Linked DNA regions of Homo sapiens: regions 1, 2, 4 and 5 are each linked to region 3. The links are contacts of gene promoters, found by promoter capture Hi-C in human tissues and cell types (Jung and others, 2019). All regions are on one chromosome and are shown on one strand. The core of a region is centred on a gene start or on the middle of the fragment in contact, and the rest is flanking DNA. Distances in the headings are between cores, read along the strand shown.

Region 1 (3,709 bases), core at 433-2,932, 130 kb before region 3:
GGAGCTTGATGATGATTGACAAGGTGTACTCTGGTCCTTGCCTGCCTCTGCAGGCTTCTCTCTTCTCGAACGCACTCTAGTCTAAGCTCCAGACACAAATTGTCGTTGCCCTGAGTGGACCATGTTCCCTCTCACCTCCCCACGTTTGCAGAAGCTTTCTTCAAATCCCCAGAGCTGCCTTTTCTGTGACTAGTCCCCATTTGTCCTTTATTCACAGTTTAACCTCTCAAAAACCTGCCTGGAAACCCACCCCCAGAAGGGCTAATGGACCCTCACTAGGTCTTCCTATACCATCATCCGCTTCCCCAGTTAAAATTGTACTTAGCGTATTTGTGAAATGAATAACTGGATGACTTTCTCCATGCTGGGCATTGTGCTAAATGTTTCAAGTACATAAGGCATTCAAATCTAGAAGAGCCCCGTGTTTGGTCCTATTATTATCCCCATTTTACAGACAATGAAATTGAGGTTTCAAGAGGGTAAGTCATTCCCATGCTGTCCAGTTAATCTATTTTGAATGGATGTGGATATTCAGGAGAATCTGATGAGATGGGCTGATCTGATTCTCTCTCGGATGCCCTATGATTTGGCACTACTTGGGGGCTCAGGGGCCTGATGGAGCTGTGATCACAACCTGGCTCTTCACTAATTAGCTGGTGTCAATGACCAGCACACTTTAGCCCTGAGTCCGTTTCCTCTTTGGCAAATTGGCAAAATAATGACTACCTTCCCAACTGTTATGAGGACAAAAAAATGAGAAGCTGTTGAGAAAGCACGTAGCACCACATCCAGCATTTAAAAAACAAATTTTTTAAAGTAAAAGATGAGGAGTTTCCCTTTCCTTAAAGGAAGTAATCTGTCTCTGCTACCTTGTGCCACAGTTAAACTGCACAGGCTCAATAACTTATGTTTTGGTTAAACGTTTTTAATTTTTTTAGAGTGAAATCCGAGTTTTTGTTGGCAAGTGATTGAACACGCTGGGCCCAGCCTGCAGGCCCACAGTCCATTAGGAAATTTACGAGGCGAGATGGGGACCTTCAGCTCAAGTACTCCCTTCAGACGCAGTACTTACAAAGCCATCAATTTCCTTAACAAAGAGCATTGGCTTAAATGCCCCTTAAAGCAGTGTTATTTACACAGCTATCCACTTCCTTTTGAATTCTCTGCCTGGGGGGTGGCAGACCTGCAGTTCTTTCCAGCTACGAGTTAATTAGGCTCTCTCCCCAAATGGAAGCAAGCCGCAGACTGAGATTTGGTATTAAAAAGCAGCTCAATTTGGGGCCATCCGAGAGTCTTATGGGGTGATCCAAATACCACCAAAATCACTGGTTCCACCCACCCATTCTTCTAAAATTCTAAAGCCTTTGGACCTTACCAAAGAGTAATGACCTCTGTCAGTATAGAGATAGAGAAGGAAAGGCAGCATTTGAGCCCGTCTCTACTTAGTGAAAGAAGCCTCAAAAAAGTACTGCTGGCTAAGATAGCATACTTTCTACCTCTTGGTGTATCGATATAGTAACATTAACATTTTAAAGAAGCCCCCACCCCTTTTGTGGGGGAACTAGGATTTGGATACAAGCAGCCCAGTTCAGGGGTCTGAGCATGAAACCACCACCCCAAGCCACCTGACCCAAGATAACCTGCCCGAGATGACAGCTAAGGGGGAAAGTCTCCTATTCAAACAGGATTGTCTGACTCTAAAGACCAGCAAAGCTCAACTACACTTTCTTGCCTGAAAAATAAAACTGTCTCTTAAGAAATACATCCTTCTTTTACTCATTTATTCTATATTTACTGAACTGCAAATTATTTGTCAGTCCCTGGACTAACTCTTGGGAAATCAGATGAATTAAAGCAGGTCTCAGTGCTCCAAGAACTCAGGTCCTAGTGAGAGGGGAGATATGTAAATGATGACGGCACAGGATTCTGACCCTCATGAGGTACAAGATACTGTGGGAGCACAGAGGAGGGACCCCCAATCCAATCTAACCCAGATTTAAGAAGGTTTCCCTTAGGAGGCAACACCTGGGCTGTATCTCTCAGAGGAGGAACGGGTGGTGAGGAGCACATTCCAGCAGGGGGACACTGTGAGCAAATGAGATGAGGCCAGCAATATAGTAGGAGGTATAAAGCACAAGATGGTATTGGAGTATAAAATGCAAATCCTGGCCGAGGTGGGCAGGACACAAGGTCAAGAGATCGAGACCATCCTAGCCAACATGGTGAGACCCCATGTCTACAAAAATACAAAAATTAGCTGGGTGTGGTGGTATGTGCCTGTAGTCCCAGCTACTTGGGAGGCTGAGGCAGGAGAATCACTTGAACCCAGGAGGTGGAGGTTGCAGTGAGCCCAGACAGTGCCACTGCACTCTGGCCTGGCAACAAAGTGAGAATCTGTCAAAAAAAAAAAAAAAAAAAGAAAGAAAGAAAAGAAAAAGAAAAAGAAAGAAAAAAGAAAAAGAAAAGAAAAGCAAATCCTGGGCTCAGATCACGCAAGGTCTTAAATGACACAGTAAGGAATTTAAATTTATCTCAAGGGCAACATGGAGCCATCTGACACTCTCAATTGGAGAGCAACAAAAGGTGTCTGCACTTTAGGAAACTTGCTCTCACCTATGGGCAGGTAGATTGGGGCAAGCAAAAAAATGAACAAGCAACATGTTCATTTTACAAGCTTTCTCTTATAAAAGCCTAATCAGGAGCTGAAGAGGGCCTCAGGTAGAGTAATGATCATGGGGCGAGAGAGACTGATTTGGACGCAGACAAGATAACGTTTTCAAAGTAAAATGGGAAGAATGGCAATTATTTGGATGTGGGAAATGGCAGAGAGGGAAGAGTTATGGATGTTTCCCAAGCTTCTGTTTAAATGTCTGGTTGGCTACTGGCGCCACCAGTTGAGATTAGGAAAAACACTTGCAGCAGGTCTGGAAAGAAAGATGGCAAGCTTTGTGTAAGATGTGTCGAATGTGAGTTCCCTTGGGGCGTCAAAGTAGAGCAATTAGATATACAAGTTCATGGGTCAAAAAAAAAAAAAAAAAAAAAAAGGCCCAGACTAAAGATAGAGATTTTGGAGTCATACAAGGAGAGAATGGAGAATGAGAAGTGTGCCTATTATGGAACATTGGAGACTGCTGATACTTAAAGAGTAGGTGAAAGAAGGTCTGTGGAGGGATGGTCAGAAAAGTTAAGAAAAACAGAAGAGGCTAACACTTCACAGGTACCAGGAGTTCTGAATTTCAAGAAAGAGCCAGATAAGACAAAAGAGAAAAATATTGAAATATGTCTGTTTGAACATGCTATTTAATAGAATCTCATGCATGACTTCCCTAAAGAATGATTCTCAAATTTCTGCTCAATCTCTTCCGGGGACAGGTCACTCTCTACTTGTGAGTAAGAACTAGATTATTATTTTTGTTAGCCATAATAATCAATATTTGTTGATCACTTTCTGGAAGACAGGAACTGTCACAAACACAGGCATCCTTGGTGTCTAGCATGAACCTGGCACATAAGAGGTGCTCAATAAATAAAAGCCTATGTGATGAATGAATAAGTTTATAAATTAATAAAACAATATATCATAACAATCATATGAAGTCAGGAATATCACTCCTACTTCTCAGGTGGAAAAAGGTATTTGGGGGATGAACCCTGAGGCAGACAAGTGGTCCTTGTGCTTCGGGGCTGGTCAATCAGCTTTTCCTCCCTC
Region 2 (3,843 bases), core at 418-2,917, 150 kb before region 3:
TCTCTTCTATCTGCTTTGGTACTCCCATGCTCCTACAGGGCCTTTTGGTGTGTAAATTTGTGTATGTATGTGTGTGTGTGTGTGTGTGAGAGAGAGAGAGAGAAGAGGGAGAGTATGAGCATCTGGGGGGAAAGTGAGAAGCACATGATACAATTCCCATCTTCTTCCTAAGCCCAACTTCTAAGAGCCTCCCAGCTCCTCCTCTCAAGCTATCAACATCTTCACTGGAAGCCCTGACAGGGTGAAAATTAACTACCAATCTCTTCTAATCACTGTACAAGGTAATGAAGAGCACAATTATACTTCCTCCTCATTCTCTGTTGTTGGAAGGAAGGTACGTTTACACTTCAGGAATAGCCTTTACCTCTAATTATGCAGACTCCGTGTGTGTGTGTGTGTGTGTGTGTGTGTGTGTGTGTGTGTGTCTGTGTGCCCACGTACTTGTGTATGCGTGTGCCTGTGCCTCTGTGTGTGGTGGTGGTAGGGTGTGTGTGTGTGTGTGTTTGTGAATGACTTCTAGGTACTTGCTTTCAGATGAGGAATTCAGGAGACTTTTGTTCTGCTGCCCTCTTCCTGGCCCTGCACCCAGCCTGCACACATATTCCCTCCCCGACCCTGTATTCTCCAGTGAGCTGATCTCATTATGGCAAATTTAGTTACAGCTGAAATCTCCTTGTAACAAAGATTATGTCCAAGCCCAGAGTAATGGAACCTAGTCGATTTCATTAAAATAAAATTGGTTACAATGAATAATTCAATAGGATGATTTTGTTTCCTCATCTCCTCTTTGTAGATCGAAGAGCTAGTATTTATAATGATTTTTTAAATTGGATTTTTGTTTAGGAAGAGATAATCACCAGTAATTCCTGACAGCCCCCCCTTACAAGATTGGAATAATTGCCCCATGAAGCTTCTTTTCAAATGCTAAGACTGGAAAATTCTTTCTCTCCTTTTCTCACATTAGTCGCAATAACATTTGGGTGATTTTTAAGCACAGCTGCTACCTCAACTCTTCCTCATGGGAGGTTCTGAGTGTGTTAATAATTCTCTTGTTTGAAGGTTGTTTTTAAAACATTTCTAAGAACTGGATGCTAGTGTTGAATTTGGATTCCTTGTTCTCTTGCTGGCCCCAGCACTGTTGTTTCTGAAGCAGGACATTCTATGTGATAGAGAGGCAATGCGTGAGTGTTTTCTGTCAGTGTCGTTCATTTGCATGTGGCAATGGGATGTATGTATGTGTATGTGTGTGTATCTACAGTCAATTAAACACACATTTGCTGGGCACCTATCTAGCCTTTGCTTGAACATGAGAGGACAAAGATGAATAAACTGAAACTTGTTCTCAAAGAACCAGCAGCCTAATGGGGGAGCCAGACAGACAAATAGATACTTCAGAGTTCAGTATGATAAATGCAACCACACAGATGATTCCACCAAGTACAGACGTGGCACAGGGGGAGGATGAACCCTAGCCATTCATCTATCTGTGCACTCATTCATTCATTCATTCATTCAGCAGGCTGGCACTATACATTGTTAAGCATCAGGAAATGCCATGTTACCATTTGTTTCCACTCTCCTGAGGGCATTCAAAAATAAATGCAAATGAATAAAGGCTTTAGTGATGTAAACATAAACAAAAAGTGAATGAAGAAATAATCAAATACAGGCAACAACTAAAAATGAGGTAGTCCTATTCTGTACCTCACCCAGTGATTCTTCACTTGACCCCAGAGGAAGGTCATATCTTTCTTTCATCTAGAAGCCAGGGCTACCCGACTAAACCTAAATCAAGAAAGCAATATTGGAAAGGAATGCCTGGGAATAGCAGCTCATCTGCAAGGCCAGGAGGCAGGCTGGTCTCTGAAAGGCCACTAGGCCAGGCAGCCAGAAGCACTGAGTCGTGTCTCTGGGAAATTTGAGTCTCGGGGAAGGCAGGTGCTTCCTTGGTAGGATAATTGGAAAGGGGGCTCTCGGGACAGCATGACCATCTCTAGAATCATACAAGCACTAGTGGCCCCAAAACTCTCACTCCCTGGACTAAGCTGTCAGTCCCTTGGGGAAGAACTGTGGCACATAAATAGTGCATTAGGGGACTGAGGCATGAGTCACAGCTTCTTAGAATTGGGAAGGCCCTTGGAGATCAACAAGCTCAACTACTCTTTATTTTAAGGATGAGTCGAAAAATAGGGCCCAGAGAGGTGGGAGAACTAGTCTAAGGCCACATAGCAAATTACTGTATAATTACTGTTAATTCAAGTAGTACACAGCTTGGCGCCCCCTAAAAAGTGGGACTTCCAATATAAATTCATTCTTACCTCATTGAAATACATGATATATGCAAAATGGAGTTCTTTCTCCAAATATTAGTTATTACAGGCAAGGAAATAGGAGGACAGTCATTACCCTATCATACAATGTTCCCTGCCCTAACAATTCCAGATCTAATCTTTTACAAATGGTATTCATGAAGCCCTAACAGTACATTTAATAAAGATATGCTCAAGTGGCTATAGCCAATGACACTGCCTTAGAGGTGAGTAGCCTTGTGGGGCATAGCGGAGACTTTGAATGTCTGCAGGAAATGCCACACATGGTTAGGATCTTACCTGGGATGCTGCTGGCTGTCCGATGATGACCCAGCCTGGGCATTGCTGGTCTTGATGAGATACTGAAGCATTGGATGCCCACTGATCCAGGAATCCCTGGGGCGTGTAGACACCACAGTCCTTAATGCTGGTTTTTTGTTCAAACTCCTCACATACCCCATCACCATCATGGAAATAGCACCGGCTGGGTTCATCTGCAAAAGATTGACATAGAAAGGGAGAGAATAAATAAATATTTGTTCTTTGGCCTCAGCAATCATCAGCAGCTGCAGAGTCAGACCACCAAAACCATTGGTACTGTCAAGCCCATCACATTAGTCACGATGGACTATTACTCAGTCTTGAAAAAAAAAGAAGGAAATTCTGTCATCTGCAACAACATGGATGAACCATGTTCAAGGAGATAACCATGTTATAGGAAACGTGGAGGCCACCATGTTAAGGGAAATAATCCAGTCACAGAAAGACAAATACTGCATGATTCGACTTATAGATGGCATGTAAAGTAGGGAAGCTCATAGAAGTAGAAAGTAAAATGGTGGTTTCCAGGATCTCGGGGGAGGAGGAAATGGAGAGTTGCTTTTCAGTGAGTATGTGGTTTCAATTGTGCAACATGAAAAAGTTATAGGAATCTGCTGTAAAATAGTGTGCTTATAGTTAACAATATTGTACTTTACATTTAAAATATATAAAGAAGGTAGACCTTGTGTTGTGTGTCTATACTGTAATAAAAAGTTCACAAACACTTTCACCTTCATTATTCGAAATATTCCTCATAAAAACTTCATGTGGAAGATATTATTCTTCCAGATGAGGAAACTGAGATTCCATACATCTTTAATAACTTGCCCAAGATCACACAGTGTGTTAATACCTGATCTGGGTCTCCAACTCAGGCATTCACTTTCCAAGTTCTGAGTGCATTATTTGACACAAAAGAATTTCACAGAGGCAAACTGGGGGTTGTTTAACTCCAAAGAGGATTTCAGTTTTGCTTTAAAACATGAACTGATTTACAAGGGACATTGGCTTCAATTCCAGCTCTGAAACCAAATTGCTCTGTTAATTTGAATAAGTCTCCTTGCCACACTGGGCTCAACCATCAGAGCAGAGAAAGAGGTTACACTATTGAGACACCAAGAACCCTTCCTGTCTAATGCTATAGGCTTCTAAGGGCTTGTCGGATACCCTAGGAGTTTTAGTTAAAGACCAAGTGAATTCTCAAGCTCCCATG
Region 3 (3,417 bases), core at 324-2,823:
TATAGGCTTTGCTGTGGAACAGCGAAGGGGAGAGAGAGGGAGGTTGAGGAGGGAGAACTCAAATTCATTACGGGCTCATAAAGTCCCATATGAGAAAAGCGCCCCGTTTCGCAGCCGCGTCTGGGGAACGCTGGCGGGGTATGCGTTAGGAAGGTCTCGTCCCAGCCCCGAGTGACAGGCAATGGGCTTTAAAAGCTAGGACATGGGATGGCGTGGAGGGGGTGAGGGTGAGTCCCAGAGGCAGGCTTCAATCAGTGAGCAACTTTGGGGCACTTCGAGGACTTCTAAGTCCTGGCCATTACAACAACCTTGCCCTTGCCGGCTTTCAGGGGAATGGGGCCTAATGAAGGGGAGTTACCTCCATTAAAACGTCAAAGAAATCAACGGTCCCCAAGTCTCCTTTCACATGCATCTCAATTGGGTCATCCTCCCTTTCATCCCAAAAGGAGAGAGTGCATCTGACCATTCGGAGCACGGGTTACGTGCCCTAGGCTCCGGGAACCAGCCCTCACTGGCCGAGGGTCCGCGGGGCCGCCAGGAGGGCTCCCCAGGTTCCTCCCAGGGATGGAGCAGCTACGCCTTCCGAGTGTGCCCATTCCACCGATGGAGCAAAGTGAGGCTCTCAGCTCGCCCGGATGTCTCTGCGCCGCTCGCGGGGCAGCTCTCGCACAGACACGCCCGCAAGCCCCCGACCCGCCCGCCACCCGCGCCCAGACACCCGCGAGCCTCTGGGGCCGCAGGGACGGTGCAGCGCCCGCCGAGGCGCCCTCACCTACCTGTGATCACTGCCGGAGACCTCTGGCCCCCCTCCGCTCGCAGCCACACTTGCAGCGTGAACGCGTCCCGGGGCAGCTCGAGGTCGGCCCGGAGGCGCAGCTGCTCGCCTCGCCCGCTGAAATAGAGCGCCCGGCTCGGCGGGCTCGGCTCCTCGGTGGCGCCCCTCGCCTCCCGCTGCTGCCGCCGCCGGGGGACGCGCACGGCTTCCCAGGCACCGCCCGGCGGCGGCGGCGGCGGCGGCGAGGCGCGGCGGCCGCGGGCCGCCCGGGTGGCGCAGGTGGCCGGGCCGGCGGCGGGGCGCGGGGGTCGGCCGGCCCGCGGGTCTCTCCGGGCCCGGCGGGGACGCTCGGCCAGCCCGCAGCCCAGCGCGGCGCTCAGCAGCCCCAGGTGCAGCACCCAACTCCAGAGCCGCATGTCCGACGGTTCCCCCCGCCCCCCCTTCGCCCCTGCACCGCCACCCGGAGCTGCCAGCTTTGGGAGCCTCGGCGCCTCGACTTTCTTCGCTTCTTCACCCTTCTTGGGCGAGCCCCCCTTTCCACTTGCTTTTTTCTTTTCTTTCTCGCTTTCCTCCTCAAGGTGTGTGCTCCACTCTCCCCACCTTTGAAAAATACAGCCCAACTCCTCCTGGTTGGCAATTAATTTCTCTCCCCGCTCCTTTATCTGCCTTATTTTTCCCCTAACAGCTGGTTGCCTTCCTCCTTGTTTTATTTCATTTTATTTTATATGATTTCTCGCTCCAAAAAAAAGCTCCTCTTAAGACTGATCCGCTGAATTCCCTCCCCCCAAAAGATGCTCTAATTTATTTATTTTTTGCGTCCTTTATAACACAAGCCACAGCCCCCTTCTCCCCCCCCAAGTCCCCCCTCCCCTCCCTCCTTCTTCTCAAAATGAAAGGAAAGAGGGGGAAAAAATCCCTCAGAAGATGAGTAAACAAGCGTATGCTAATCTGCTCCCCAGCGCTCCACCTTCCCAATTGAATGAGTCCCTGTTAAAACTGCGGGGATCATGACTAATCAATCAGTTTGGAGAGGCCGAGCTATCCAGCTTTCCTTCACTTTGCCTTTTGCCTCCTTTCCTTCGCTCCCGCTTCTCCACCACCCCCTCCTTTTCTCTCTCTCTCTCTCTCTCTTTTTTTTTTTTTTTTTTTAAGGAGACAATCTTAAAGTAACAATTTAATGAAATTCTGTACACACCCCCTTACGGTCCTCCCAGCTCTCATTCCTGCTCAAAACACACATTCCTGTTTTTGTTTTGTTTTGCTTGCTTTTTTTCCCTCCCTCACTCCCCCCACTTATTATTATTATTTCTGATGGCAGGAGAAAAATCTGTCTCTTCTCTTAGGATCCCCTTTGCACTTTGCTGGTAAACCTCATCCTTTTCTGTAGCACATAAAGAGTCTTGAAACTTGATTCTTAGATTTTTTTTTTTAATTCTCTCTCTCTGTCTCTCCCTCCCTCCCTCTCCCTCTCTTTCTCTTTTTCTCACTCTCTCCCTTACTCTTCTTCCCGCTTCCTCTCCCTTTACCTCTTTCCCTCTTCTTTTCCCTGTCCTTTTCCCTCTCAGAATTTCCTTAAAGTTGTACGATGATGAACCATTCCCCTCTTTTCTGAGCCCCCAGATAAGGCTGGCTTCAGCTAACCCAAATGTTTCCAAAGTTCTTATGGAATCATCAGAAGAAAATAGAAGAAAGGCACTGTCCAGGACATCTGCCTTTCAGAAGCTGTAGTCCTAGTACAACTGGGTCTCTGAATTTCCCCGAATACTCTTTAAAATACTCTGTTGGTCATTAGAAATTATTTTAATTTTATAAGAAGAAAATGAGAGAAAAATATTAATTTGCCTAATGTTTTCAACTTAAGCAATTCAGGTCCTCTGAAATTGTTAAAGTCACAGGTAAGGATCTGACCATTTGCTGCTTTGTAGGTCTGTTTTTGAACTGGGACATACATGTAATATATTTTTTTCTTCTTTTTTCCCCCTCTTTATAGAACTCAAAAGCTCCCCCTTATGGCAAAACAGATCTTCTTTTATTTTGTCCAAGTGTTTAATAAGTCAAAACATGTTAGCAATGGTGGATTACAAGCTATTAATTACCAATCTATTCCAATAAGGTAGTGATAAAAATATTCTGTGTGAAGTTTGCATGTGAATAGCGTGCTGAAAGTCTGCGATAAAATTAACTCCACTAAATTGTAACTTTCTTCTTCAATTGCTCTTATCTTCCGAGCTGCTCCAGATCTTTCTTGAGAGCTAGGAACATTGCTACACGCTTCAGGAAGAGAGAAAACCAAGGAAGAATGTTTGTTGGCAAAAGTATGACGATTTGTCGGATGAGCAAATGACTCAGACATCCCCTCTATGAAAGCTGGAATGCGATATATGCAAAGATTATGGAAGCTTTCTGAAAATGGGAGATCTCAGATTCATACCTTCCTAGTTTAGAAAGAAGTTGCTGAATAGTCTTAGACTAAGAACGTTTGAACTCTGTTTCTGTAGTCATAAAATGAAAATAGCACAATACCCTAAATGTGTTTCCAGAGACTGGCTGGAGGAAAGAAAATCTTGGGTGCACAATGTCATGAATAAAGAATTTGCCTAAGCAAATCTTTGACTTTTTGCAACTCCAAGTCATCTGTAAAA
Region 4 (3,971 bases), core at 1,147-3,646, 130 kb after region 3:
TAGAGATAATTCCCATATAGAAATTAAAGTTGCAAATCATTTTCCATTAGAAGTTTTAGTGTATCACATGCATTACATGCATAGGAAAATTCTAATAATATTCCTTTTTTTCTATACTTTGTTTATGCCCTATTATACCTTTTCTTATTTTTCCTATAACTTTTGGTTTCTCCTTTATGTTTCTGGGGTCCTGAAAGTTTGTGATGATGTTCCTTATTGTGTATATCTTTTGATCTATTGCAGAAGTTAGCAAAGCTTTTTTGGAAGGATCCAGATAGTAAGTATTGTAAGCTTTGCAGGCCATAAATTCTCTATCTCAATTACTCAGCTCTGCCACTGTAGTGTGAAAGTAATTGCAGGCAATATTAAACAAGTGGGCATGGCTGTTTTTCAATAAAACTTTATTTAGAAGTATAAACGGCAGGCTGAATTTTATCTGTGCTCCATAATTTCCTGCCTCTGATCTATTTGTAGTAGACCTAGGGGGCACTTTCAACATGAAAATTGTTTAGATTAGGGATTTGTCACTTTTCCCTGACATTTTTCTTTCTTCCTTTTCACCTGTCTTCTATTTCTGGAACTACAATTAAACAGATTATGGTGTAAAAAGTTTGATTTTATGTATTTTCTCCTATTTTTCATATTTTTATATTTTTGTACTTTTGTATCTTCAAATTTATTTAATTAGGAATTTTCAGAGAAAGAGAATCAATAGGATGAGAGGGTATCTGTCTATCTATCTATCTATCTATCTATCTATCTATCTATCTATCCATCTGTTTCTCTATATTCCAAATCTAAAATGTGGATCAGCATGCTTGAGACTTAAAAGGGTTTATGATCCAGTTTCATTCCAAAGGTGGCAGCCAGAGTTCCAGGGAGAGCTGATGATGCAGATGAAGTTTAAAGGCAGTCTCTTGAAGAATTTTTTTTTTTTACTCAGGGGAGGCTCAGCATTTTCTATTCTAATCAGGCCTTCAATAGATTAGTTGAGACCAACTCCCATTATGGAGGGCATCCTGCTTTAGTCTCATTCAAAAACACCCTGTCAGAAACATCCAGTATAATGTCTGACCAAATATCTGGGTATCCTGTGGTCCAGTTAAATTAGCATATAAAATTAACTAACACATCTTTCTTCTATCCTATCTATTTAAATTTTGATTCTGCTATTATATATTTAATTTTCAAAAGCTTGTTCTTATTTTCTGAATGCTCTTCTTTCATAAGATCCTACCTTTTGTTTGTTTTTATTTGAATGCTGGATATTATCTTATTTCTATAAGAACACTATATTTGTTTAGCTTTCTCTTTTTTCTTTTTAGTTTTTCTTCTGGTCTTTACAGAAATTCTGTTTTTTGAGCTTCCATTTTTAGTTTGCTCTGGTTTCTGCCTTTCATGTTAGAGGATTTACTCAAATATCTGCCAGTCCTTGAGTATTCATTCATCAACAAGATTTAAGGTAGCGAAAAATTAATTTGAATTTCAGGTTGTGTGAGTGGGACTTTCTGATTGGTGGGCCTCATTGAATGATGTTAAAACAGGGACTTGACCATATTATTGGAGATTCCCTCAAATGTGAATATCTGTAGTTTTAGTCTGGTCAAATTTCTTAGAGAGAAACCTTTCACTCTCCTTGACTTTGGGCATATAAACCAGCTTCCATCTTGAAGGAAGTCAAGTTGTAGAAAAGGGAGCTTAGCAATCTTGCCATTCAGGTTGTAGATTTTTGCTTAAGTTTCCTATTTTTAATACATGTCTTATCTCAACCTCAGCTTTGTCCTGGGTATCCACATCAAGAGCATCTTTAGTTTCACTTCTCCAAAGAATAAAATTCCCACGTTCTTTCGGCCTGGTTTGGGGAAGAGCAGCACCTGGCATTCTGGCCAGGAGAAGATAATCTGGAATTATAAAACTTTTTAAAAATTAACTTTCAATGAATCCTCCTCTCTTCAACTGTCTCCTCATTCCTACCTTGTAAGATACCAGGTGACTTTCCTGAGCCTTTGCAAAGTTTTGTGGCATGAATCATCTTGTTTCTTTTGATCTTCTTCATGCTCCTTCAGTCATTTGGGTTTCTGCTTCCTCACCACTGATGATGTGGTTTTCATTAATCCATCTGCTTCCCATCTTCCTGAATTTTGTTGACATACCTCATCTGTTTACTTACACCTTCTATTTTTTTCCACTGGGTACTTCTGGGTTTATACCATGTTTATTCCTTTACAGGCATGATCATGGCATTTCAGAAGATTCTAAGAAAAATGTATGTTCTAAATACATCATGCTTAAATGAAAAACAATAACAAATTTTTATTGTTTTCCTGATACATTCCACATACTTTTATATGCATCATAAATAGAGCAAGAAACAAATGACACATGGTCTCTGCCCTCTCAAATTTTTATTGTAGTAGAGGGAAATAACAAATAAAGAAATAAATGTACAAAATAATTTTTGGTACTCATTAAGTATCGTTTTTAAAAGATAAAGCAAGGTAAAAAGGAACTGGGTAATGATGGGAGGAATCTATTAAGATAGGGAATCAAAACATCTTTCTCTGAAGAGATGATATTTAAACAAAAACCCAAATTAGTTAAGGATATGAGGCAAGTTAGAAATTGGGGGAAAATATTTCCAAATAGAGGGGTCAGCAAAGGCCTCATGGCAAGTATAAACTGAACACTCAAAACAGCAAAAAGACAAGTGTGGCTGGGAGGGAATGAGCATGAAGAACAGACCACAAAACCACAAACGTGAGGAAAGACCAGATCATTTGGGACCTTCTGGGTCTTGGGAAGAAGCTTGAAATTTGTTCAAAATGAGAAGGAAATGTTAAAATCTAATTTTCTTTTTTAAAAGAAATGTTCAAGAAATTTATTTTTGCCATTCTACAAAGACTAGGCTCTTGGGAGCTTAGAGGGAAAGCAGAAAGACCTGCTCAATACTACTGAACTAATCCAGATGAATGAATTTCATGTCTTGAACCTGGCTGGCAATGAAGGATAAAGGTAATGAGGTGGTATCAATAAGGCGCAAATGGTGATGTGTCTTGCATTGCCAGTAAGAAAGACTGGGAGAGAAACAGGTTGAGGAATAGATCAACAAAAGTCCAAAGTTTCCTTTTAGTACATACTACTTTTGAGCGATGCCAAGTAGCAGCTTAACTATCTCAGTCTGGAATTTACGGTAGTCAGTAATAACATTTAAAGTTGTGGAACCAGATGAGATTACATAGAACAGAGATCTACAAACTATAACCATCAGTCCAAATATGGCCATTGGTTGTTTTTATTGGAACATGAAAATGTTTGTTTTTGTATATTCTATATGGAAACTTTTGCACTACAATGGCAGAGTTAAGTAGGTGCAGCAGAAACCACATTGCCCTAAAGTTTAAAATATTTACTATCTGGTCTTTTATGGGAAAAGTTTGCTGATTTTTGACCTAGGGAGTAATTGAAGATGAATAAGAAAGTCAAGGATGAAGTTCTGGAGTTCACAGACATTTAAAGATTGGAAAGATGAAGGTGACCCAGCAAAAGATACTGAGAAGAAACAGCAAGTGAGGAAAGGAAAACCAAGTGAGTGTGATATCCCAGGAACCAAGTACATTCTTGGGAAGAAGATTATTTAACTATGGCAGATGTTGCTGAGAGGTAATCCAACATGAGGATGATGGGACTTGACAGGATGAATTTGTGGTGACCTTGACAAGAACAGTTTCTATGGAGCAGCAGCAACTAAGTCTAATTGTTGTGTGTTCAAGAGAAAATGGAAGGTAAGGATGTGAAAATGATGAATATAAAAAAATCTTTTCAGTTTTGCTGTAAACACAAGAAAAATCAGATTGTAGCTGAAAGGAGAAAAGATATGAAAGAAGAAAGCACAGGTTGGTTTGCTAAGAAGGAGACTTTAAGACAGAGATCAGAGTACAGAAAGGTTGGTTGTGCTTTCAGAATCAATATCT
Region 5 (3,575 bases), core at 267-2,766, 160 kb after region 3:
CACAATAAATCTGTGGAGAAGCTGTTCCAATCTCCTGGCCTATAGCCCATTACATACAATTCCAGGTCAGGTCTCCTACTCCTTCTCCAGTTTGTTTCCAGTTTGAAAACAAAGTTAACAAGTGCCTTTAGCATGACTTTGACCAAAGACTTCTCATGAGACACTTTGAGGGATCTCAAATGCCCACTTGGGCAAGCAGCCTTCAATCAGAAGCAGGCACGTGTTGCAGGCTATGAAAGGGGAAACCTTCTCTGTGTCACAGCTGAAAGCACTCCTCTAGATATTTAAAGCAAGCCCTCTTTTAAAAAATTAATGACCTGAAAGGGGAGAGAAGAAGCTGCCTATGTAATGTGGAAAAAGGAGCTGAATGACCACAGTCCTGGACCCTCTCCAGATGATATCATCAGCCTAGATAATAAATTTGTAACAATGTGGCTGAAAGAAAGGAGACATAATTTCAAAATTAGTCAAAGAAGCTGGTAGCAGTAGAACCAAAAATAAGGATTTTTTTTTTTAATCTGGTAGGCACAAATCTTCTATCCCCTGGGTAGTTAGATTATCCAGAGAGTAGAGCAGAAACCACAGTCATTTCTGAGTCTTGGAGCCTACTTGTTCCCAGCCCATCAGAACAGGCAGAGTGGCAAGTGGGCCTGTCTCCTTTGTGTGTCTGCTAAACATGCCCTTCTAGTTTAAAAAAGGATAAATGAGAGAATGCTGAAGTTATGAAAAGTCAGTCACTCACTTAACATGAACCATTACCTAGGGATTCTCATAGATCCTCATAATTATAAATGTGTGATAAGTTAAAAAAAAAGAATGAATGCATAAGGTTGAACGTTGTAATTAATTATGATGTAATTAATTGTGAAGCACAGATCACTACCTCTTTCATGTCAACTCCAATATTCTGTGGTGATTCCCCTGCCCCGCAGATAGACTGGCAGCAAGAGGGCACACATATTTATGACTTGGTCATCGTAGCTAAGCACAGTCAAAGGATATACTGGCAAAGGGCATTTTTTTCTGTTACCTTCTTTCTCCAAGCCACTTGTCACTTCTCTCCTAACCTACTATAGAAATCTTGTGATGGTTTTCCTATCAACTTACTTCCTCACCTCCAGTACAATTTTAATAGTCAGTTGGCATTTAAAAATATTAGTTGGGGAGTTGGGGCATGGTGGACCACGCCTGTAGTCCCAGCTACTCGGGAGGCTGAGATGGAAAGATTTCTTGAGCCCAAGAGTTCCAGACCAGACTGGGGACTATAGTGAGTCCCCGTCCCCTCCCTCTGAAAAAAATGTATCTATGAGTTCATTTTTGTTATTGCCTTGCCTAAACACTTAAATGTTTGCCCATTACTTCTTGAATAAAGACCAAGCTCCTTCTGTGCGTGGCCTATTATACCTTGTGTCTTCTGATATTCATCTACCTCTCCCATCTCTCCTTAATTTTCTTGAAAGTTAAAAGATAATGTGGCTAAAGTGAACAAGGAAGCCATGTGTCTTTAAGAAAGACACATTTCTATGGTCTTTTTATATCTCTGAGCTTTCACATTTACTGTTCCTTTCATGTGGAATGTTCACTTCCTTACTCAAACCTGGTTAATTCTAATACATGCTTCACCTAAACACACACACACACACACACACACACACACACACACATCTTTTCTCACAATAACCTGGCATCTCCCTCTCACTTGGTCGACCACTTTCCATTTATAACTGTATGCTAGTTTCTATGACTAATTGTTTAATTGCATGCAAGGTGGGGGTGGAGGGGCAATGCCCATGTTATGTACACTGCTTCTTCCCAGAGATTGCGCAACAGTGTGGTCAGTAAATATTTGCTGAATGGCTAAAAGAAAATTTACCACATTTTTTATGACTTTGGGCAGTCAAAGACGTGAGTTCAGTTCCAAGGAGCCTCAGTACATTACACTATCCCATAACAAAGATGATAATGATGATGAAAATTATGATCACCTACCCTTTATTTTGCCCCTTATATCTAATACTAGGTATTAGGCACTGAGATAAGGATTTTCTCTATATTTCTCACTTAACTCATTCAAAAGTGCTATGAAAACAGAGGCTCAGAGAGATTAAGTGCTTGTTCAAGATCATATAGCTAGAAAATGCCAGAACTTTGATTTAAAACCAGGTCTATTCAACTTCATAATCTGTTTCTTTTATAGCTCACCACAGTGTGAACTATAATTCTACTTTAGAAGTAGTTTCCCTACAGTCTGGGAATAAATAACTCAAGGAACATAGCCATGGATGTATGGCAGAGATGTGATCCTTGTGGATGAAGGAGAGAAAGTCACGAAGGAGAATGGGGATTTTGTAGAAGAAAGAGTGCACTATGTGATGGTGTGCACATGAGGGGTAAACACGATCTCACTGATATTTTCTTGACAGTAAAAACTGAGTTATGATGGTGTGTTAATATTTAGAAATATTAGAACATAGGGTGTAAGTTGTAAGAAAGAGATTGATATCTGTCTTTTGAAAATCCTGCCAGATGACTGGTGGTGAAAAGTTTAACAGAAATCAAACATCTGGTAGAGATTTTCCCAAACTTGCAACCCTCTTCTTACCTACCCCCACTCTAGCCTCAGTAAAGTTCTTCCTGTAGAAATTTCTAAAATTGATGAGAAACCAAGTATTTTTAAAATGAATCAATAGCTTTCTTAAATCTGTTTTTATTCTTCTAAAGTAGCTTAATAAAAATAACTTTATGAATTTTCTTAATATTTTAAATCTTAGAAAAGTGAACATAAAATATTCAGTAAGGACACATAAATGAATGAAGTTTACCACTACATTATTTTGAGAAAAAAGGATTTGCTTATCAAATAAATAAACAACTTTGATATCATTTGAAAGAATGTTTAAACACTGTAAGAGAATGAGCTATTCTCAAACACTTTACATATCAGCTGATAAACTTATAAAAAATCACTCTTTTTTATTGACTAAGATTTGTCCCTAGAGACACCTACTTGGCAATTTGTTTGAATTAACATATGTTTTTTAAAAGACAATCTACATTTATTTTTAAACTTTGTGTAAAAATATAAACTTTGTGTAATTCAGAGCAATACAGATTTATACCAATAGCTCTGTATTAGTCAAAATTAGGAAGGCTTCAGAACGTTTACATAATGTCTTCCTTGGAATTCTAACAAGGGCCACAGAATCTAAAGGCTCTCTCTTCATTCCTTCCTTCCTTCCTTTTTTTCTTTTTTCTTTCTTTCTTTTCTCTTCCCCTCTCTCCTTCCTCCCTTCTTCCTCCCTCCTTCTTCCTTCCTTCCTTCCTTCCTTTCTTTCTTTCTCTTTCTTTCTTTCTTTTTTCTTTCTTTCTCTCTCTCTCCTTCTTTCCCTTCCTTCCTTCCTTCTTTCCTTCTTTCCTTCTCTTTCTTTCCCCAGACATGAGGCTGTTATGAAATATTGATTACATTTAACTGCCTTTAAAAAGAAATTCTGCTTCTATTAGATGACTTCTGTAAGAATCTAACCCTAGAATTGGCTGAGAACATTTCCAGATAATATACCTTTCCCAAACAAAAT

The links. The method cuts DNA at HindIII sites, captures the fragments that hold promoters and counts their contacts. A contact is called where the count stands out against the background at its distance.
Region 1: a fragment that was not itself captured here is called in contact with the fragment with the promoter of PAPPA in region 3 in 5 of the 25 tissues and cell types used here (H1 embryonic stem cells, mesenchymal stem cells, mesendoderm cells and 2 more).
Region 2: a contact is called between a fragment that was not itself captured here and the fragment with the promoter of PAPPA in region 3, in 1 of the 25 tissues and cell types used here (bladder).
Region 4: a contact is called between a fragment that was not itself captured here and the fragment with the promoter of PAPPA in region 3, in 2 of the 25 tissues and cell types used here (IMR-90 fibroblasts and lymphoblastoid cells).
Region 5: a contact is called between a fragment that was not itself captured here and the fragment with the promoter of PAPPA in region 3, in 1 of the 25 tissues and cell types used here (IMR-90 fibroblasts).

What each region holds. Positions count from the first base shown.
Region 1 is chr9:116,283,881-116,287,589 of GRCh38, reverse strand. The region is part of intron 9 of PAPPA (pappalysin 1); the gene reads right to left. It overlaps PAPPA-AS2 (PAPPA antisense RNA 2), which reads left to right. Exons shown (of 6, transcript NR_170222.1): 6 at 2-1,762. Among named protein-coding and RNA genes, the nearest start is that of PAPPA-AS2, 78 kb to the left of the region's middle. RefSeq lists enhancers at 466-1,040, 1,041-1,617. The HindIII fragment of the contact is 4,653 bases long and covers 1-3,709 here.
Region 2 is chr9:116,301,717-116,305,559 of GRCh38, reverse strand. It overlaps PAPPA (pappalysin 1), which reads right to left. Exons shown (of 22, transcript NM_002581.5): 10 at 2,610-2,803. All of the region lies in intron 4 of PAPPA-AS2 (PAPPA antisense RNA 2), which reads left to right. Among named protein-coding and RNA genes, the nearest start is that of PAPPA-AS2, 60 kb to the left of the region's middle. The HindIII fragment of the contact is 5,013 bases long and covers 1-3,843 here.
Region 3 is chr9:116,151,947-116,155,363 of GRCh38, reverse strand. PAPPA (pappalysin 1) reads right to left here and starts at 1,573. Exons shown (of 22, transcript NM_002581.5): 1 at 777-1,573. The coding sequence starts at 1,191. The HindIII fragment of the contact is 11,414 bases long and covers 1-3,417 here.
Region 4 is chr9:116,019,100-116,023,070 of GRCh38, reverse strand. No RefSeq gene overlaps it. Among named protein-coding and RNA genes, the nearest start is that of LINC00474, 96 kb to the right of the region's middle. The HindIII fragment of the contact is 3,305 bases long and covers 744-3,971 here.
Region 5 is chr9:115,994,872-115,998,446 of GRCh38, reverse strand. All of the region lies in intron 1 of LOC105376236 (a long non-coding RNA gene), which reads right to left. Among named protein-coding and RNA genes, the nearest start is that of LINC00474, 71 kb to the right of the region's middle. The HindIII fragment of the contact is 8,116 bases long and covers 1-3,575 here.